Regions from separate parts of the Homo sapiens genome. Here regions 2, 3, 4, 5 and 6 are each linked to region 1. Evidence: promoter capture Hi-C in 16 types of primary human blood cells and fetal thymus (Javierre and others, 2016). All regions are on one chromosome and are shown on one strand. The core of a region is centred on a gene start or on the middle of the fragment in contact, and the rest is flanking DNA. Distances in the headings are between cores, read along the strand shown. Region 1 holds the start of ZC2HC1B (zinc finger C2HC-type containing 1B). Region 2 has its middle 52 kb from the start of PHACTR2-AS1. Region 3 has its middle 39 kb from the start of PHACTR2. Region 4 has its middle 15 kb from the start of PHACTR2. Region 5 holds the start of PHACTR2 (phosphatase and actin regulator 2). Region 6 has its middle 3.9 kb from the start of PLAGL1.

What was found. The method cuts DNA at HindIII sites, captures the fragments that hold promoters and counts their contacts. A CHiCAGO score of 5 or more calls a contact.
Region 2: a fragment that was not itself captured here is called in contact with the fragment with the promoter of ZC2HC1B in region 1 in 1 of 17 cell types (neutrophils); the score reaches 5.1 in neutrophils.
Region 3: a contact is called between a fragment that was not itself captured here and the fragment with the promoter of ZC2HC1B in region 1, in 1 of 17 cell types (erythroblasts). The highest score is 5.9, in erythroblasts.
Region 4: a fragment that was not itself captured here is called in contact with the fragment with the promoter of ZC2HC1B in region 1 in 3 of 17 cell types (megakaryocytes, erythroblasts and M1 macrophages); the score reaches 7.4 in megakaryocytes.
Region 5: a contact is called between a fragment that was not itself captured here and the fragment with the promoter of ZC2HC1B in region 1, in 2 of 17 cell types (megakaryocytes and erythroblasts). The highest score is 7.5, in megakaryocytes.
Region 6: a contact is called between a fragment that was not itself captured here and the fragment with the promoter of ZC2HC1B in region 1, in 2 of 17 cell types (M1 macrophages and erythroblasts). The highest score is 5.8, in M1 macrophages.

What each region holds. Positions count from the first base shown.
Region 1 is chr6:143,862,794-143,866,075 of GRCh38, forward strand. It overlaps ZC2HC1B (zinc finger C2HC-type containing 1B), which reads left to right and starts at 1,681. Exons shown (of 8, transcript NM_001013623.3): 1 at 1,681-1,774. The coding sequence starts at 1,747. It overlaps LTV1 (LTV1 ribosome biogenesis factor), which reads left to right. Exons shown (of 11, transcript NM_032860.5): 9 at 51-103; 10 at 293-493; 11 at 624-1,019. The coding sequence ends at 734. The HindIII fragment of the contact is 3,305 bases long and covers 938-3,282 here.
Region 2 is chr6:143,619,412-143,622,693 of GRCh38, forward strand. It overlaps a transcript of PHACTR2 not described here. Among named protein-coding and RNA genes, the nearest start is that of PHACTR2-AS1, 52 kb to the left of the region's middle. The HindIII fragment of the contact is 8,835 bases long and covers 1-3,282 here.
Region 3 is chr6:143,637,132-143,640,413 of GRCh38, forward strand. It overlaps a transcript of PHACTR2 not described here. Among named protein-coding and RNA genes, the nearest start is that of PHACTR2, 39 kb to the right of the region's middle. RefSeq lists an enhancer at 434-977. The HindIII fragment of the contact is 1,679 bases long and covers 880-2,558 here.
Region 4 is chr6:143,661,027-143,664,308 of GRCh38, forward strand. It overlaps a transcript of PHACTR2 not described here. Among named protein-coding and RNA genes, the nearest start is that of PHACTR2, 15 kb to the right of the region's middle. The HindIII fragment of the contact is 1,483 bases long and covers 1,059-2,541 here.
Region 5 is chr6:143,677,272-143,680,553 of GRCh38, forward strand. It overlaps PHACTR2 (phosphatase and actin regulator 2), which reads left to right and starts at 694. Exons shown (of 13, transcript NM_001100164.2): 1 at 694-938. The coding sequence starts at 893. RefSeq lists an enhancer at 38-886 and a silencer at 636-935. The HindIII fragment of the contact is 660 bases long and covers 1,345-2,004 here.
Region 6 is chr6:144,010,523-144,013,804 of GRCh38, forward strand. It overlaps a transcript of PLAGL1 not described here. Among named protein-coding and RNA genes, the nearest start is that of PLAGL1, 3.9 kb to the left of the region's middle. The HindIII fragment of the contact is 1,038 bases long and covers 1,220-2,257 here.

The sequences.
Region 1 (3,282 bases), core at 431-2,930:
TGGAACTGAAAACATGCTTACTGATACATGACTTTTATTTGTTTGTTTAGGTACATACTCAAATTTATATAACCATCCACAGCTTATCAAGTATCAACCAAAGGTAAGTCCTAGTGTGCTGAGCTATTTGAAGGATGCAGTGCATAAAAAATAGAGTGCACATTTTCGCACAATAACTTTTTATCTTTATGGCTAGAGTGATATTAGAAAAAGCATCAACAGTATGTCATTAATGAGCTATTTTTTAATAGGAATGAGAAGTAACTCTAGTACCATTTTATCTGTATTTCAGCCCAAACAAATTCGAATATCTTCTAAAACAGGAATACCTCTCAATGTCTTACCAAAGAAAGGACTCACAGCAAAGCAAACTGAAAGAATACAGATGATTAATGGCAGTGATCTTCCTAAAGTATCAACTCAGCCACGTTCTAAAAATGAAAGCAAAGAAGATAAAAGAGCAAGAAAGCAAGCTATAAAAGAAGAGCGCAAGGTAAAATATATTTTTCAAATGTGAGATTTACAAAGAGCTGGTGGAGGGGAAATTAGGGGAATTTTGTAAAAGCAGTCTGTATCAGTTTAAAGATGTGAATAATACAAGTATATTCTTGTACTTATAACAGGAACGAAGAGTGGAGAAGAAAGCTAACAAATTAGCATTTAAACTGGAGAAAAGAAGGCAAGAAAAAGAGCTGCTGAACTTGAAGAAGAATGTTGAGGGTCTAAAGCTATAGACAGTGGAGCATACAGGGCAAGGCACTTTATTAGGGGCTCCTCATCTTTGGTTATTGACTAGAAACTTCAGAAAGACAAAACTGTTTGCCATTTTTACTGGCAGATAAGAGGAAAATACAATATTTGTATTATTTTTATACTAGTAAGTGTCCCCTGCCAACCATCTTGTAAATATTGTAATACTTTAATTTTTAATATTATAAGCTTACATTTGCTCTGAAGTAAATGACTTCATGAATGTGAAATGTTTGATAAATTAAAGGAAAATATCTTCATAACGTGAATGGAATTGGTGTATTCATTTATTTGTATGGTTGTCATAGTTGTTTTTTGCAGATGTTTTCAAATATTTCTTTGAATCCTCTCCACGCCTTTTCAGGAATTACATGGTTTAATTTGCTGTAAATAGAAAAGTGGCCTGGTTAAACTCAATTTTGAAATGCTGACTTTATTCTGTTTAGTGTAAGATGAGTTTTTCTGAGAAGGTTCCACTGTTAGGAAGCTAAGTTTTCCCTTGCTGTATACAAAGGACTGTTTCAAAAGTGTGGCAAAACTGAATATTAAGGTTCTTAAGATTCATATTTCCTGTTATATTACTGGATGACTTGCTTTTGGGATTTAGGAACAGTGAAGGCAGGAAACAGAATAGTCAAGGAAATAAGAAAACTTATTTGGCTTCAGTGAGTCCCTAGTTCAAAATCAGAAATATTTATTTCAGTTTAAACTGGGGAGTTTGTCTTTTCAACATCAGTTAATGCTTGGAACCATTCATACTTGATTAAAATACATCGTTGAAAACTTTCCCTGTTTTTGATGAGTTGATTTTTGTTTTAACTGATTTAAACTTTTTCAAGGTTTAGGCAATGACATCATCACAATTGTTGATTATTTGGTAAACTATGACTTCTTGCAACAGATTAGTGGTCCTGGTTTATGTTCTTGACTAGTATGATGTTATCTGGACTGGGCTGTAAAAATCTGTGAACACTGTTGCTCTGAGTTAGGAACAGAATGGCTGGGGCAGAACCATTTTTGGCAGGTGAGCTGCACTTGATATCTAAATTATTAGAAAATGCCTTCATCTGTAATCATTCATTTATGGCTTTTCCAAAGCTGGTAGGTATTAGCTTGTTCTACCATGTGTGATCCGTTTAAATCTAAGTATTGTAGGATTTTTAAAGAGTTGTCAAAACTGATGGCATTAGGTATTCTACCAACATTGGCTAGAAAAAAATCTTGACTGAAGAGCTTGTCATTGCAGAAGTAGGATACTGGAGAGAATGTATTTAAATGCCAACCTGTGAAGTAAAGGGTCAGATGATGGTTTATGTCAATATTGAGAATGTAAGTACTAAAAGGATTGGCCATTTATTTTGATAGCTGTCTCAACTGAAGATTCTCAAAAACAGCAAGAGTCTTAATAGGCATTGGATGTTTCTTTGTCATGTTACTCAAATTCTGTGTTATGAGGTGCTAACTTCACTGTGTTTAAATCCATATATTATATATTTTGCAATTAAGAGAAAAAGACTAGGCCATGAGTCTTGATGAAGCATATTGTGATTTAGGCAGGTTATACTCCAAACTTAAATATTTTAATTTTATTCTGAAGAACAAATTCATGATACTTTAAATGAATTTTCTGATATCTTGGTTCTCTAAAAATCTATAAATGATGATTGGGAACTGAACATAAAAGCTCCATGCTAAATGTTGGGAGCCCAAGAGATCAGAGGGTTTTTGCCTTCAGGAGCCACATGGTCTGAGGAGGCAGGATAGGTGCAGCGAAATGTAACTGGCAATACTATCGTGGTAAGTACCACTTGTAATTAGAATCTTGGTACTTGCTGTTCCCCCAGAAGTGCTTTCACTGCAGACAGACCTTCCTCATGGTTGGTGCTCAGCTGTAACCTTCACTATAGGCTATTCCCTGAGCTTGTATTTAAAAATCCTGCACGCATCCCTCCCCTGCATCCTTGACCCTCCTTCCCTGGTTTATGTTCTCCACAACATCTGTTGACGCAGAGGACTGTTTTTCAGTCTCCTCTCGCAGGACAAACCCTGAAGGCACAGTGTTTTATTTATTGCTTTATCCTTAGGTCTGGAAGGGTGCCTGGCATTCAGTATACAGTCACAAAGTAGTGTATGAATGAATGGATAGATGGGAAAGATTTCAGAAAAGAATTAAACATAGAACCATAGCAGGGCCTAGAATCACTGGGGTTAGGGAGGAGAGAAAGGCCTAAGAGATCCAGGCAGGGGGCAAAATCTTGAAGAATTTGTATCTTAAACTTTTTTTTTTTGCCAAGACAGGTCTTGCTCTGGCGCCCGAGCTGGAGCGCAGTAGTGCGATCTCATCTCACTGCAACCTCCAACTCCCGGGTTCAGGCGATTCCCCTGCCTCAGCCTCCCGAGTAGCTGGGATTACAGGTGTGCACCACCATGCCCAGCTAATTTTTGTATTCTTAGTAGAGACAGGGTTTCGCCATGTTGGCCAGGCTGGTCTCAAAACTCTTGACCTTATGATCCGCCCGCCTCGGCCTCCCA
Region 2 (3,282 bases), core at 549-3,048, 240 kb before region 1:
TGCTATTAAGATACTTGCTTATTGCCAGTGTGAAAGCACATTATTATTAGAATGCTAAAGATCTTGTGCCTTGCACAAAAATGCTCTGAAATACCCTACTGAAGGGTACACAGTGTTGACCTGTACACAAAGAAGCATCTTTCTTTGAGACTGTTGCATGGGAATGGTGGTACATTCTGTTTTCTCTTCCTCCACTTACTGTGGAAAGGGACTCGGTAGCTTTTGTATCATTAACTGAGACTTGCTTAAAACTGTACACCCAACTTGTCTTTAATTTACCACCTGCTGCATGCCTCTGCACTTCACATCCTGGGTCTTATTTTCTTAGTAAGGGAAATTTGGCAACCCTCCATTTTTAAAGCAGCTTGACTTGGGGCATTTTTAATAAGGGGATAAAAGGAAATATAGCCAGTCCCAAACTTTGACAGCGGTCAGTATGGTATAAAGAGTGAAAATATCTTAGGTCCCCTGTGTGAGATTCTATAGTCTTCACAGCGCCGATCATGCTTGCTTGTGGTACTTACAGAACATGTCACTCGGTCGGGGGTGGGGGGTCAGTTCATTTGTTCAAACAGTAAGCATTTCACAACATTCATTAACCTTAGGGTCACTTTTTTAAGTTAAGGAAGTTCAAAGACATTTGTTTAAATAACTGTATGACTGTGACGATAGTTGAAAAAAGCCAGATAGTTGAAAATTAAAGCCAACTTTGTTTTTAAAATCCAGACTTCGTGGAAAACCAGGAGCTCTGTAGCATACATTTAGAATAAAGCTCCAGCTTTAACTTCTAAATATCCTGGCTTATGTCAGTCTTTTTGTCACAGCCCTAATGCTCCATAAACAAAGGTGTCTCTTATACTAACAGATGTGGGCTTTGTCTTTAGCTGTCTCAGGGAAGGTTTTCATGGAACCTCGAAACTACAAAAACTCCCAAAGTACCCTTGAGCACCTGGGTTACTGTAAAACAAAATCATGTCCCAGAAAATTATGTTTTCAATGCAGGGCTAGTAAGAAATGAAGTTTTTTTTTTTTGGAAAAAAAAAATGCTGTACATACTTCACCAAATTCCTCTCATCTTCAAAAATGCTTACAAATATAGCTTGTTTCTCACAGTTCTCCGGTGAATTATGTAAATACTTCAAATCATCAGTTCTGCTTTTATAGATATGAAACTAAGGCAGAGAAGTTTATTTATTTATTTTTTCAGACAGCAGCCTCATGCACAGCTTAACTGCACATAAAAAATGTTGCCCTGACATATAAAATCCATGTCTGCTTGAGTATATGCTTGGCCATCGGCCAACCCACAAGGCATAGGCCATGCCAAATGTGATTTCCATTGGCTTTTATGCAGGGGGAAAGCCAGGCACAGTTTACCCTTTGGGACGCATGCAATATTGTTTTTAGGGAAATGTGGTTGTATTTGCCCTGGCCTCAAAGGCTGTCTCACTGGAGGACAGGCTTTGGTCACAGTTTTGGTCACAAAACACAACTGTCCCCATCAGCTATGTTGAAGCTCTCTGTACTAGGATATGCAACCAGGTGATCAGGGACTGGAAATCAGCTGGAAATTCCAATAGAGGCTCATTAATTAGTGGAGCCCACATATGCAGGGCATATACTTATATGGCAGGTGGGCAGCAGATGGGGGACAGTGCAAACCTCCAGGAAAAGAACAAGAGCAGGATCATTAAAGAAGCCTTAGCATTTTCACACAGAGACTGAGCTTGGAAATCCAGTTTCAGAGAAGGGATTGGAGGATTGGGTAGGGAATGTGGACAGATTATAGGGAGAGACCAAGGTAGACACCTGGCTTATGAAACGGGTCTACAGAAAACATCAGGAGGCCCCCACAGGTTTCATTCTGGCTTCTTCAATTTGGTGTGAATTGACAACAAAGAAAACTCAGGAGGGCGCGAATGAGTTCCTGTGGATCCCGAGCCCTCTCAGGCCTCCTCGGTGCAGAAGGGCAAATCCTTCCCATAGTTCCTGCCTCTCTCTCTAGAGTAGCACAGGACTTGGGAAGCCAGCAGCTACAAGGAAGCTCACCTGTCAAGCACCAACGCTTTATTTTAATTGGTATTTTGCATGAGAATCATTAAATTGCAACTCTTTCTTATATTTAATCACATTTACTGGCTTTCTCAAATTGAACATACCCCAACCCTTGAATAGTGTGGGATTGTGCAAAGGAATGGAATTAGAGTTGTAAAAGAAGAATGCAGTTCCTGGCTGAGCCTGTTCTACCTGCTGGTATGGGGCCTTGGGCATATCCATGAGCCTCACTTTCCTCATCTGTAGTTTAGGGTTGATTGTACTTGGCTTGAGTAGTAAGTATTATGTAACATAGATTCATTTTGCACCTACGTGGACTTTAAATCTTTGCGAACAGTAGCTCATTTCTTCCTCTCAGCTACCTCCCAAGGTGATCACTTGGCCCCAGGTCCCCCTGCTCTGGCTCCCTGAGTTCCTGCCTTGCTCACCTCTCACATTTTGCTGTTGTGCACTTGCTTCTGGCAGCTCCCATCTCCCTCCTTCTAATCTGCTGTTTTCTTCTTTTTGTGTGTGTGGTCTGGGAAACCAAATAATCAAGAGTGTTATCCTTTTGTTCAAAATGATAGTACACAGACCCCACTGAGGCCTTGGGCAGTGTATGATTCACTTGTGTGGGCTGGAGTTTGTGAATTTTTTACATTTATTCGGGCCGAGTTGCAGTTCGGTTGATTTCCTGGTTCTTGACATAATGGAGGTGGACAGCTAGGTTATATCTTTTAATGTTTCCTCATCATCCAATTTAGAAATCTCCAGAGATCCTGCCCAAACCTCAGGATAAAATTCAAGCCCAAAACGTCACACAAGGCCCCTGTGTCACCAGCACTGTCACCACCTCTGGTCATGTAGTCCTAGGTCCCAGCTCCCCAGACTCTTCCTCTCATCCCAAGTACTGTGTGTTCCTGCTGCTTTGCTTGGCAATGTGCTGTTCTCCTCGCGTACATCTGGTCTCCCCACTGGCCAGGAAACTGCTCAAGGGCAATGTTACCTTACCGTTGGTTTCCTTAGTCCTACCCCAGATGTGGCACACAGTAAGTATTTAATGCATGCTGGCTGACTCACTTCTTCTGCCATTGTTACCAAGCTACAGAATGTTCTATAGAGCACAATGATGTATATAGACCATCTCATTACATAGATTTTAAAAATATTTAAGGAGAAAAGGACAGTTTAGAGAAATGTAGCCAAATGCAAACGATGCAAAATGCAGCTTAATGAGGTTAGTAAAAA
Region 3 (3,282 bases), core at 469-2,968, 230 kb before region 1:
ACCGGGGGTGGTGCAAATGGTGGTGTGCTAAGCATGTGGTTCTTCTGAGGGATCCTTGCTGTGCCTTGCTCCCTTGTTTTTGCTCTAACCTCAATTCCATGAGCCACTCAATATCCTTCCAAATAATTTTTTTTCTAAGTTAACCATTCTTTTGTTTTTCTAAGTTAACCATTCTTTTGTTGTTTGAAAAAAAAAAGAAAGGAAGAAAAGGAAGGAAGGAAGGAAGGAAAAAAGGATGAAGGAAAGTAAAGAGCACAGGAAACGTAACAATGATATTTAGTTTTTCTTGGACTGGTAGCTTATCTATTCCTAGTCCTCAATATGTTCTCAGTAAGACTTTGCGAAATTGAAGTATATTCATTTTCTATGTTGCATAACAAATTATCACAAATTTAGCAGCTTAACACAACACATATTAACTATGTCACAGCTTGTATGGGTCAGGAGTTCAGGCACAACTTAGCTGGGTCTTCTGCAAGGCTACACTTTAGGTGTTGGGCAGGACACAGTCCTCATGTGGAGGCTTGACTGGGGAAAAGGGACTGGTCCCATGTTAGCAGAGTCAGTTCTTTGCAGCTGCAGCACTCATGGCAGCTTGCTTCTTCAAAGCCAGCAAGGAGAGCAAGGCTCTAATGCAAATCTGCTGTAGCAATGGGAGTCTTTTATAACATAATACAATCACAGGAGAAACATCCCTTCGCCTTTGGCAAACGTGATAACATAGTCATGGGAGTGACATCCCGTCACCTTTGCTATGTTCTAGTTGTTAGAAACAAGACACAGGTCCCACCCATACTTAAAGGGAGAGGATTACACAAAGGCTTGAACACCAGGAGGCAGTGATCATGGGGGGATCATCTAAGTGTCAGTCCACCACAAAGCTTTCATGTCAATTTCAAACAAAAGCAATAGCATTTCTGGTAAAAACAATCTAATGATTCCAGAGCAAGGTTACAATAATATTTTTAGTGTGTAGTTGATGAATTATTTCAGTAAATATAGACAGAAACCACAAATACTAAGGTCTTCCTTGTAGCAAATAGAGACTTAAGTTATAGTATTGCTGAGAGCTTGATTGGCAGTTACAAATTCAGTGATCGCTATGGCTTAAAAAGAAGCAGAGGAATGCCAGGTGCAGTGGCTCATGCCTATCATCCCAGCACTTTGGGAAGCCAAGGTGGGAGGATCACTTTAGGCCAGGAGTTTGAAACCAGCCTGGGCAACATAGCAAGACCCCGTCTATACAAAAATAATAATTAAAAGATTAGCTGGGCATGGTGGTGCATGCCCATAGTCCCAGCTACTCAGGAGGCTGAGATGGGAGGATTGCTTGAGCCCAGGAGTTCAAGGCTGCAGTGACTATGATCATACCACTGCACTCCAGCCTGGGCCACAGAGCAAGACCTTGTCTCAAAAAAAAAAAAAAGTATTACACACACACACATACACACACACACACACACACACACCCAGCTATCCAAGTTTTGAGCTAATTTTTCATTTTATATTAAGCATTAAACACCCCAAATGTATATTTGCTTAAGAAAAAATGCTAAATACATACTTTTAAAAAAGGGCAGTGAAGTTAGAAGATGAATGTTAGCAGGCAGATTCATCATACTTTTCCTTCAAATATTTTAAGAATAGTAAATCCACAGACAATGCTTCTTGCATATAGGGAAGTACATGTGTCTTGTCCATTGCTCTTTCTAGCAATATAGATAAATTCCTTTGTTCTACTCTGTCAATTTTCCTGCCCAATTGCATATTTGTCCTTAATAATCAGTAGTTTACAAAATTTATTCTGTCTAAAAATTGTAATTTAGAGTGTTCGTAGCTTCCCCAAAACTATGAATGACATTATCTCCTTAATGATCATTTTCTCTTTGCCCAGTTGTCAGGCAATAAAATTATTCAGTGTAGCATCAAAAGCCTCAGCCAAGGGCTGATAAAGTCAGATGAATCTACATACTTATGCATAATTTTTTAACAGTGTCCAATATTCTTCTGAATTATTTTTGAATCATTACATCTTTCTGCTTTCATGAGCCACCAATGACATGCTTCATAAAATGACAATTGCTGCAAAGTACCTGAAGTACAGTCTGTCTTTCCAAAACAAATTAATGGTAAGATATACCTATAGCAATGTAATGTTGTAAAACAAATGTAACAGAACTTTATATAGTGATTTAATCTTTAAATCACGTTGGGAGTTAGTGTTTATGCCATCAAGGCTATCATTGCTCAAAACATTTCAAAAATTACTAAGTGAAAGCATATTCAGAGCCATTTTATAAGTGACACAAGCAAAATAATTCTTATTTTTAATTCACACTTTTGTTTTCTGCTTATGTAGATCACCTATTTTTACTTTTGGCATCTAGATGACATTTGGCCCATTCAAAAAGAATTAATTGTGCTGGGGAAAAGTCTTTAGGTTTGGGAGTGAGAAAGCCTGATTATAGCGGGAGGGATTACTAACTCTCCCTTTGATGATGGATTAGCATACCCCATCATGAGTAAGGATAGCGATGGTTTGAGCAAGACAGTTGACAAGCTTGATGTAATTGATCAAGAACTCTGCACACAACAAGTAGATATTCATTCCTCTTAGGCAAATATGAAACATACACAAATATTGACTATTTACACAGTCACAAAAGAAGTTTTAAGAACCACTGAAGGGTGATTTGATTTGCATTACATTTTCTCACTGTAGTGCAATGAAATTAGAAGTCAACATAACTACTCTAAAGATAATGTGTTCTGGTTCCTAGCCTCCAGAAGCTGGAGGAAGCAAGGAATAACAACTTGTTATTAATAGAGTCATGTGCTACATAATGATGTTTCTGCCAACAGTGGGCCACATATATGATGGTAATTCTGTGTAACTGTAATAGAGTTGAAGAATTCCTATAACCTAGTGATGTCACAGTTGTTGTGCTGTCATAGTGCAAATGCTTTACTCACAAGTTTGTGCTGATGCTGGTGTAAACAAACCTACTGCACTGCCAGTTGTATATAAGTGTAGCACATATAATTATGTACAGTGCATAATGCTTGATAATGACAACAAATGTCTATGTTACCGGTTTGTGGATTTACTATACTTTTAATCACCATTTTAGAGTGTACTGCTTCTACTTACTGTTTTTTAAAAGGTCACTGTAAAACAGCCTCAGTCAGTTCCTCCAGAAGGTATTCCAGAAGAAGACACAAAAGATGGATAGATGAGCAAAGTTAACCAGGTCACTCAGTCAAATAGAATAGAATAACGTT
Region 4 (3,282 bases), core at 550-3,049, 200 kb before region 1:
TTCAAATGGCAATATCAGTTTTCAGATACTAGCTATTTCTATACTGACATAAATAATGGAATACAAGTAAAATATTCATAAAAAATTCATAGTAAAATTTGCATACAATGAAAAACTCTAGATGAAGTAAGATAATATTTAAGGTGGGAACAAAGTAAAAATTATCACCTAAAGTCACAGACCCAGGTGAGAAATGCATATTAATGTTGACTGTTTTATTAATGCATGTAGTTAAATATAATAGTATTCAGTGTTGGTTTGTAGAAACAAATCACTGCATGTGTTACTGGTTCACAAGAAAACACTGTAACACATCTATAAAGAAGAAATTCAATAATCTAAAATGCAGTGGAATCTGGGGCTTCATGTGGGTTTTAGAATATTTAGAGCAAAACAAAATCTAGAGCACTTTATCCTATATAGTAAATAAATAAATATATCAAAGTATAACAATAATTTTGCAAATAAAATAAAAAAGCTTTTAGGTAAAGATTGTTTCTTATCGTATATTTGGCCCTTTTCTAAAATTTTCTTTCTTTTTTTTTTTTTTTCTTTGAGGCAGTCTCGCTCTGTCACCCAAGCTGGAATGTGGCACAATCTCGGCTCACTACAACCTCCTATTCCCAGGTTCAAAGGGAAGCTACTCAACCTCCCAAGTAGCTGGGACTACAGACATGCACCACCACACCTGGCTAATTTTTTGTATTTTTGGTAGAGAAGGGGTTTCACCAGGTTGACCAGGCTGATGTCGAACTCCTGGCCTCATGTGATTCGCTTGCCTTAGCCTCCAAAAGTGCTGGGATTACAAGCATGAGCCACTGCACCTGACCTAAAATTTTCCCTTGTGCATTCTCAAAATTGCAAGTTCTCTACCTGGAAAATTTGGAGGAATGAAAACCCCTCAGCAAAAGACCCTCATTGCATTGGAGGGTGATGTGTGGATTTAAAATGGCAATATTCCAAGCACATTTTGTATATGTACTTCTTAATTGTGTGATTACATGATTTCTCCCTGAATAAATCTTGTTTTGATGAAAGATTAAGTCAGAGCACCTGCAAGCTTCATTGCTCCTCCCCCTTTCTCAGCTCCCATCTTTATCACCTGTTTGGAGAATGTGTCAACATTCCCTAATTGAGAAGTAATTTGCAGTTACTGAAATCCATTTTATATTAAAAAGCCTCTTCAATATGCACAACTTACCCTAGAGAGCTGTTTTACTTGGAGGCATTTCTTAGATTTAAGTTCTAATAAAACTAAGTGTGTTTTAGGAAATAACTTTATAGCTTTTTTTCCCCTATTTTAAAATACAAGGAACATAAAAGTAAAGAAGAGATGAAGTTAAGCCTGTTAAATATAAGAAACTACTTATTTTGTTTGTTATTCCCTTAAGATGTCGTTTGGAGTTTTAAAGATATCATTGTACTACAAATAAAAAATATTACAGATATCTATTTACTCTTCAGAAAGTAAAAATAAGTAGTGGGTAGGAGTTCTTCATCTGTTTTTAGTTATAAAATGCTGAACTATTGAATAATGAAAGTGTTTTAAACAACACTAAAAATGCATCTGTATTTTTCCCTGAATGCAAAACAGTAATATTTAAATTCACCTTCCTACTAGGGATGTTTCAGTTCTTATGACTACCAGGCAGTTTTGTTTTTCATCTTGAATTGTGAATTGTCTTCACCTATATTACAATTAGTTTTTTCTTTTTTTCTTTAATTTCGGCTTTTATTTTTGATACAGGGGGTATGTATGGAGGACTGTTATATGGGTGTATATTGCACCCAGACAGTGAGCAGAGTACCCAATAGGTAGTTTTTCAACCCACATTCTTCTCCTTTCCCCCTATAGTACACAGTGTCTATTGTTCTCATGTTTATGTCCATGTGTGCTCAATGTTTAGCTCCCACTTATAAGTGAGAATATGTGATATTTGGTTTTCTGTTCCTGTATTAATTTGCTTAGGATATGATCTCCAGCTGCATCCATGTTGCTGCAAAGGACATTATTTCATTCTTTTTTTATGGCTGTATAATATTCCCTGGTGTATTTGTACCACGTTTTCTCTAGCCAGGCCCCCACTAATGAGCACCTAGGTTGATTCCATGTCTCTGCTATTGTGAATAGCACAGTGATGAACGTACGAGTGCATGTGTCTTTTTGCTATAGTGATCTATTTCCCTTTGAGTATATACCCAGTAATGATATTTTTGGGTCACATGGTAACTCTGTTTTAAGTTCTTCCAATTACATTTTTCATTCAAAGTTGCAGAGCACTCTCTCAACATGCTGAGTGAAGGCTTGCCCTCCCCGTGGATGAATGAAGTACTGAATATCCCAAAGCATTGAATCACTTCTCTTGATTTTAAGATTCTGTTTCATTGGTGCCCTTGTTTTTATCATTTTGTTTTTTACTCTGTTCTTTTTTCTTTTCTTTCCCTTTTTAGCTTTATCATTTAATATTGACCTAATTCATTTGTGTGATTATCTTTCCCTGAATAGATCTTTTCTTTGTTTTTTTAAATAAATGCGATTAAAGCTTTAAATATAGCTCTAATTACCACATTAGCTTAATTCTACATGTTTTATAGTGCTTTCATTGTTGTTTAGTTCTAAATATTTTATGCTACAATTGGATTTTCTTGTGTTACTTAGGAGTATGTTTCTTTCAGTTTCTAAAAATGTGTGGGAGGGGTTTTTATTTCTGTTTTTAACTAGGTTTTCTTGTTGATTTTTAATTTAATTACATTATGGTCAGAGATCAGGGATTACTTAATATGAATTACTTAAAATTTATTGAGATTTCTGTTATGATCTAGTGTTAAATCAATGTACAGTTGCCATTTTCTTGAGTACAAGTCTCTACACGTTTGTGTATTACATCAAGCTTGTCAATGGGATTGTTTAAATTCATGACCTTAAAAATATTTTGTTTTCATGATCTATTAGTTTTTGATGGTATGTTAAAAATCTCTCCTTATTATTGTGGATCTGTCCGTTTATCATTGTAATTCTGTTAGTTTTTGCTTTAGATATATATATGGTTCTGATGTCAGGGATATATGAGATAATAATTTGAACATCCTGTTAGATTATAATTTTTGTCATTACACTATATAATATGTCCCTCTATACTATTTGTTATTTTACCTTCAGTTTTAATTTATCTATTATTAATATTGAGATTATAAATTTTCTTTTGGTAAGAATTTTCTTAGTAAATATTTTTCATACTTTTATTTTCAGCTTTTGCTGTTTGGGGTGTGTCTTCTAAAAAT
Region 5 (3,282 bases), core at 425-2,924, 190 kb before region 1:
TAAATATGAAGAATATTTATTTGTATTCATATTTTTAAGAAGATTGAGATTTAACAGGATATTATAGAAGGGTTTAATTCACCTTTCAAGTTTGTTATAGTTTTTTTCCCCTTTTGTGTATTTTAATCACTTTATTTCACAGTAATTCTTTTGAAATAAAGGAGAGGTCAGCACTCCAGAGTTTTAGGTGGGAGACAGCAAAAAGTATATTTTGTTGATCTCACACGTAGACCTACCATTTAGATTTGTTGTCAAGCCTGATTGAGGCCATTAGTGCCGTTTTTAAAAAATTATATTTGTTAAAAGGAAGATAATTTTTAAAACGAGAAAAAAATGGGCACAAGACATGAGAGTGCCACAATACTGCAAATAGAATGTAAGGAAGGAAATAACTTTTAAGAAACAAATTTTGTTAAATTAAGTACCGTGACTAAATACTTTAATTCCTTTTCTTGTAGCCCGTAAGGATCATTTGACTTTGAACCTTTTAAGTCAAAGAGGAGTAGTCTGAAAGCCTGAACTCCCTACCACCCTGAGGGGGTGCGGGTGCGGCGGGGCCGGCTGGGGGCTTCCCCCACCCCCTGCTCCTGCGCCCTCCCCCCGCTTCCCCCTCCTCCCCTCCCTATCGCCCTCACCCCCCTTCTTCCCCCGTGACCCCTGACCCCAGCTAATCTGCATAGAGGAATGACAGGCATCCGCTGGGCAGGATCCGCCGCGCCGGCTGCGGCCGGCCGGGCTGGGAGACCCGCGCGGGGTAGAAGGTGAGGGGACCCGGCGGGCCGCTCGGCACAGGCCGGGACATGAACGCCTGGAAGTCTGGCTGGGAGCGGACCCATGATCGAAGGACCAAAGGAGCCGCTTGATCGCTGGACCTGGCCCTGCGACCCCAGTCATGGGCCAGACCTCGGTGTCCACGCTGTCCCCGCAGCCCGGCAGCGGTGAGTCCGGGGCGCACGCGATGCGCTCCCGCCGCGCGGGCGCAGGGCTGGCGGCGGGGCCCCGGGGCAGGCAGGGTTAGTCGTCTGGTCGGGTTCCGCTCGGACCCGCCAAGTCCCTCGGAGAAACCCCAGAGGTAGCGCTCGCCAAACTCTTTGTCGTGAAAGAGGAATGCCTTTTGGGATCCAGCCGATTTTACCTTAAAGGCACAGGCTCCATTTTTCTGTGCGCGATGCCTCGCTGTGGTTTTTTATCCAAATTATTTCGGAGCCAGAAACTTACGGGAAACGCCATTTGCGTATTACAGTGTTTTTAAAAACGCGAAACTTAGAGAGCAAGAGAAACATGCCAACAGGTTTTTCTGTATTTACGCTTGGCTTCCGAACAGACTAGGACTGAATGCTTTCAAGCTTGTCAACTGATTTATGGTTTGTTATTCGGAGTAGAAGCGCTGATCGCCTTATCCTGGCAGACGCTGAATACTTAATAACTAGCCCCGAAATGCGTAATTGTTTCAAATGAGACTTGTTTTGTTTATAGTAGATACAGCAGCTATAACATTTAGGGAAACATATCTCATGAACTTAGTTCTCCAGGACTAAAGTTAGTTTTATGGAGACGTGTGTAACGTGTCTGAGTTCTAATGCTCTGTTTTAAAAGTTTCTTTTTTCCATTTTCTTAAACAAAAAGAGGGAAGGAAGGTACGTCTGGCATTTCCCCGACAGTGTAGGGATAAAAAAAAAAAAAACTGTTTGGTGGTGTTACTTGTGATTGGATAAGGAAATAAATTTAAAAGGTACTATTTTGATATTTTTCCATCAACGATTAAAAATAAATAATACTCGAAGGGACCGTTTATGTTACTCATTGAGATATTTGATACACTTTTTAAATTGTGCAAACATCAACAGGATCTTGCTGAAAGGAAATGACAGGGTACAGAGGAAGGTTTTTTAATCTGCCTCAGGATGTCTAGCTAGATAGCATTCTGTCATTCCAACCCCCCACCCCACTTTATACCCAGTGGGTTTCTTTAGGTAGCACAGCTTCACTCCCTGAGATACCACAAGCTTTGCTGAGGTTTCTGTTAATACCACAGAAGACCCTTCTGCAAAGAAGAGACATCAGAATCAGAATATACCTTCTTTACCATTAATGACATGGCTACAGCTCTGAAATCAAAGACCTCATGTTGACAGCTTTTTGAGAGATATTTGCGGGGAGGGGTTGAGTAGGATTTTAAATTTAGTAAACTATTTTGTGCAAATAAGACTTGGTTTCCTTTGTCTTACCTTAAAGTGGTGTGAGACTTCTTTTCATTTCAAGGAAGGGTTATATTTTTACATTTGTGCACCGGCGAAGATAGAATTAAATCTGTACTCCAATACAAGAGTATACAGAAAGTATTGTCCTGAATTTAGTGATTTTATCACAAAATATTACTCGAGTGAATATTAGAAAAGCAAATTTTGCCTTAATAAAAATCAAGGAATATTATATAAATGATGTCTAAGAAGCAAATAAAATCCTAAAGTGAGACTCCCTACGTCTTAGTACAGCAAAAAAACCCGGATTGCTATAATTCCAAATAAAATGACTGATTATAATGAGAAACTGTAATCTACTTAAGTAAAAAGTGTTTTAAACAAAAATTTATGCTTGATCATGAAAGATAATTCAGAGAAATATCTCACGGAACGGTGTTATACTTAAATTGCAGGTCCTCAGTTTTGCGGATTAAAAGTTTGTATGAATTGAAATGACCAATCCATACATCATAAATACAGGGTTTTTTATTTTTCAGTTAAGGAATGACAGTGGTTATGACTTAAGTTGTGGTATTGTAAAAGAACAGTTTTCTCGTGGTATCCAGTGTCTCTAAATCCGTTAGAGCTACCCTGTTTCCCTGAAGGTTTGCCATCAGATTCCAAATGAAAACCAAAAAAAAAAAAATTTAAATTAAATAACGTTTGCTGAGTTTTATATTCATGTCTGTATTTTTCTGAGTCTGAGACTGTCAAACTCTCTACTATTCCAGGTATTTTGTTCACTCCTTGTTAACTGTTTAACTCTGGCTTTACAGATGGCGTGAAGATCCTTGTTCTGTTTGATCTTAGCCATTGACTAGTTGTTTAAGTCTGGAGCAGCTGCTTAGGATTACAGTATTAAAGATGATTCTCATCTTAAATGCTTAGTGGGCGAAAATCTGTTTAAGTCAAAGGAATCAATAGCACAGAGTTTAATTATTCATACTTATCGCTCAATTTGGCCTTTTGTAAAAATCTTCATTATAGGCTAGAAGTTAGCTTGCTTTCCCCGTTTTGACTTTAGGCTCTCTAGAGCCTT
Region 6 (3,282 bases), core at 489-2,988, 150 kb after region 1:
TACTGCCCAAAGTAATTTATAGATTCAATGCTATCCCCATCAAGCTACCATTGACTTTCTTCACAGAATTAGAAGAAACTACTTTAAATTTCATATGGAACCAAAAAAGAGCCCGTATAGCCAAGACAATCCTAAGCAAAAAGAACAAAGCTGGAGGCATTACACTACCTGACTTCAAACTACACTACAAGGCTACAGTAACCAAAACTGCATGGTACTGGTACCAAAACAGATATATGGACCAATGGAACAGAACAGAGTCCTCAGAAATAACACCACACATCTACAACCATCTGATCTGTGACAAACCTGACAAAAACAAGCAATAGGTAAAAGATTCCCTAGTTAATAAATGGTGTTGGGAAAAACTGGTTAGCCATATGCAGAAAACTGAAACTGGACCGCTTCGTTACACCTTATACAAAAATTAACTCAAGATGGACTAAAGACTTAAAACATCAGACCTAAAACCATAAAAAGCCTAGAAGAAAACCTAGGCAATACCATTCAGGACATAGGCATGGGCAGAGTTCATAACTAAAACACCAAAAGCAATGGCAACAAAAGCCAAAATTGACAATTGGGATCTAATTAAACTAAAGAGCTTCTGCACACCAAAAGAAACTATCATCAGACTGAACAGGCAACCTACAGAATGGGAGAAAATTTTTGCAATTATCCATCTGACAAAGGGCTAATATCCAGAATCTACAAAGCACTTAAACAAATTTATAAGAAAAAAACAACTCCATCAAAAAGTGGGCAAAGGATATGAACAGACACTTCTCAAAAGAAGACATTTATGTGGCCAACAAACATATGAAAAAAGCTCATCATTACTGGTCATTAGAGAAATGCTTCAAAGATTTCTGTGGAAAGATCTTAATCCCATGTAATTTTCCCCTTGGAGGTGGCTTGATTTTTCTGCTTGGATACCTGAAGAATTCTTTAACATTAATATACCCTTTAGTATTCTTATCTGGGCTATGCCTCTGTGTCAGTTATTCTAGATCAATTTTTCCCCCCAGCATACAGTATGATCTTCCAATTTATAGATTATGTTCTTTTCTAATGTCCCATGTATATTATATATCTGAATACGCTGCTTTTTCAGGGCTGAATGTTGTTTCTATCTACTTGTTCTGTGATCCAAGGTTTTTCGGACAAGGAGAGGTGGGGGAAAAGGGGATGTGTGGAATTCAGCTCAGACAGAGTATAAAGCTTGCTGGAGGAACTCAACCTTCACATCTGAGATTCCTTTAAGTCCTCTGGCAGCTGGACTTCAAGCTAGCCAAGGGAACATCCCATGCCTCAGAGTTTCAGTTCATTTGCTCAGTTCAGCACAGTATCCCAGAAAGTGGGAAACTTTCCTGCCTCTGGCAAGATCCAACAGTGGTATGCAAAGGTTCCTCAACATCTCACAGGTGTGCCCTGCCTTTCCACATTGGGGGACGTTTGTGAGAATTCTTAGGATTTGGTCTGATCATCTTTTTCCTCAACATGTCTTGCAGCGGTGGGTGGAGGGCTGGGCAGACATAGGTTCATCTGGAGACAAAGCACGCCTCCATAGAATCTTCTGTTCTCTTTGTTTTTGCTATCAATTCTCAAATTTTACATTATAAGGTTGTACTTTTTTCTTCTTTGGTTGCAGCATGTAAGTTTTTTGTTGCTTTCTTTCCTTTGGGTGATTTAGTGTTTTGTTTTGTTTTTGAGACAGAGTCTCGCTCTGTCACCCAAGCTGGAGTACAGTGGCATGATCTTGGCTCACCGCAACCTGCCTCCCGGGTTCAAGCAATTCTCCTGTCTCAGCCTCCTGAGTAGCTGGGATTATAGGCGTGCACCATCACAACCGGCTAATTTTTGTATTTTTAGTAGAGGCTGGTATGGGGGTGCTGGGTTGGGGGGAAGTTCGCCATGTTAGCCAGGCTGGTCTCAAACTCCTGACCTCAGGTGATCCGCCTGTCTCAGTCTCCCAAAGTGCTGGGATTACAGACGTGAGCCACCATGCCTGGATGATTTAGTATTTTAATTTTGATTTTTTTAGTGCTTCCTTGTGCCATCTTTATCCAGAAGTCAGTCAAGCAGTCTTTCTTTCTCACTGGTAATGAACTATATGAAATCCTTTTTTATCTTTAGGTTATTTCCACAGTGGTCTCTTTGAACATGACTATGTTGACCTGGTAGCTGTGACACACTCTTTTTCTCCTGAGCTTTCCCTCAATGACGCATGCTTTGGCATTACAGCATGCCCTAGCAAAGCTTCTGGAGCAGGGGTTGCAAACTCAAATCTCTACAAAGTTTAAAACAGTGAGGAACAATGGGACTGTGGTAAAGTGAAAAGGACATTCTTTGTGTAAGGGGCAGATGCTCAGCTCAGGCCAATGGCTGCCATGTTTGAACTCAGGGCAGGGTTGCCACATCTGCATAATTTTCAAGGGAAGTATGCTATCTAACATTTTAATATAAAATCTTCTAATTTTGGAAACACTGCAGAGGCCACATGAAGTATTTCTCCAGGTCAAACTGGACCCAAGGGTTGCCAGCGTGGTCACTGTAGTAGACAGAACCCCTCAGGACAAATTCCATAATCACACTTTTTCTCTAAGTATTTGGAGATTCCATTTTATTCTGCAGACTATTGAATGACTTCTTAACATTTCTTCAGCAAATGCAGAACAAGAAAATTCATGCTGACACATCTATAGGTTGATACAATGTGTCAGGACCCAACACTTTCAGGAACAGGTGTTACCAGGGGTAACAGCTATGATGGGGCTAAAATTAATACCACATGGGCAGACAATCATACAGATTATGCCCACATTAACAAAATAATGGAGGGGGAAAATGTTATTTTCAATTGATGCAAAAAGAGCATTTGACAACTACACCCCATCCTGAAAAAAATGACAACTAGGAATGGAATGGAACTTCCTTAGCCAGATAGTGGCTATATTTTATCCTATAGCTGCCATAACAAATTACCACAAACTGGTGGCATAAAACATGAAATTTATTTTCTGAGTCCGAAAGGCCAGAAGTCTGAAATCAAGATATCAGCAAAGGCCGCAGGCGCCATCTAGTGGCTCTAGTGGAGATTCCTTCCTCACAACTTCCAGCTTTTGGTGACCACTGCCATTCCCTGGCTTCCTCGGCTTCCTTGGCTTGCGGCCACAGCATGCCAATCTCTGCCTCCATCTTCACAACGCCTTCTCTGTGCGTGCCATGTGCTTTCTCCTGTGTGTATCTCTCTTATAGGGGTAGATGTCACTGTACTTAGGA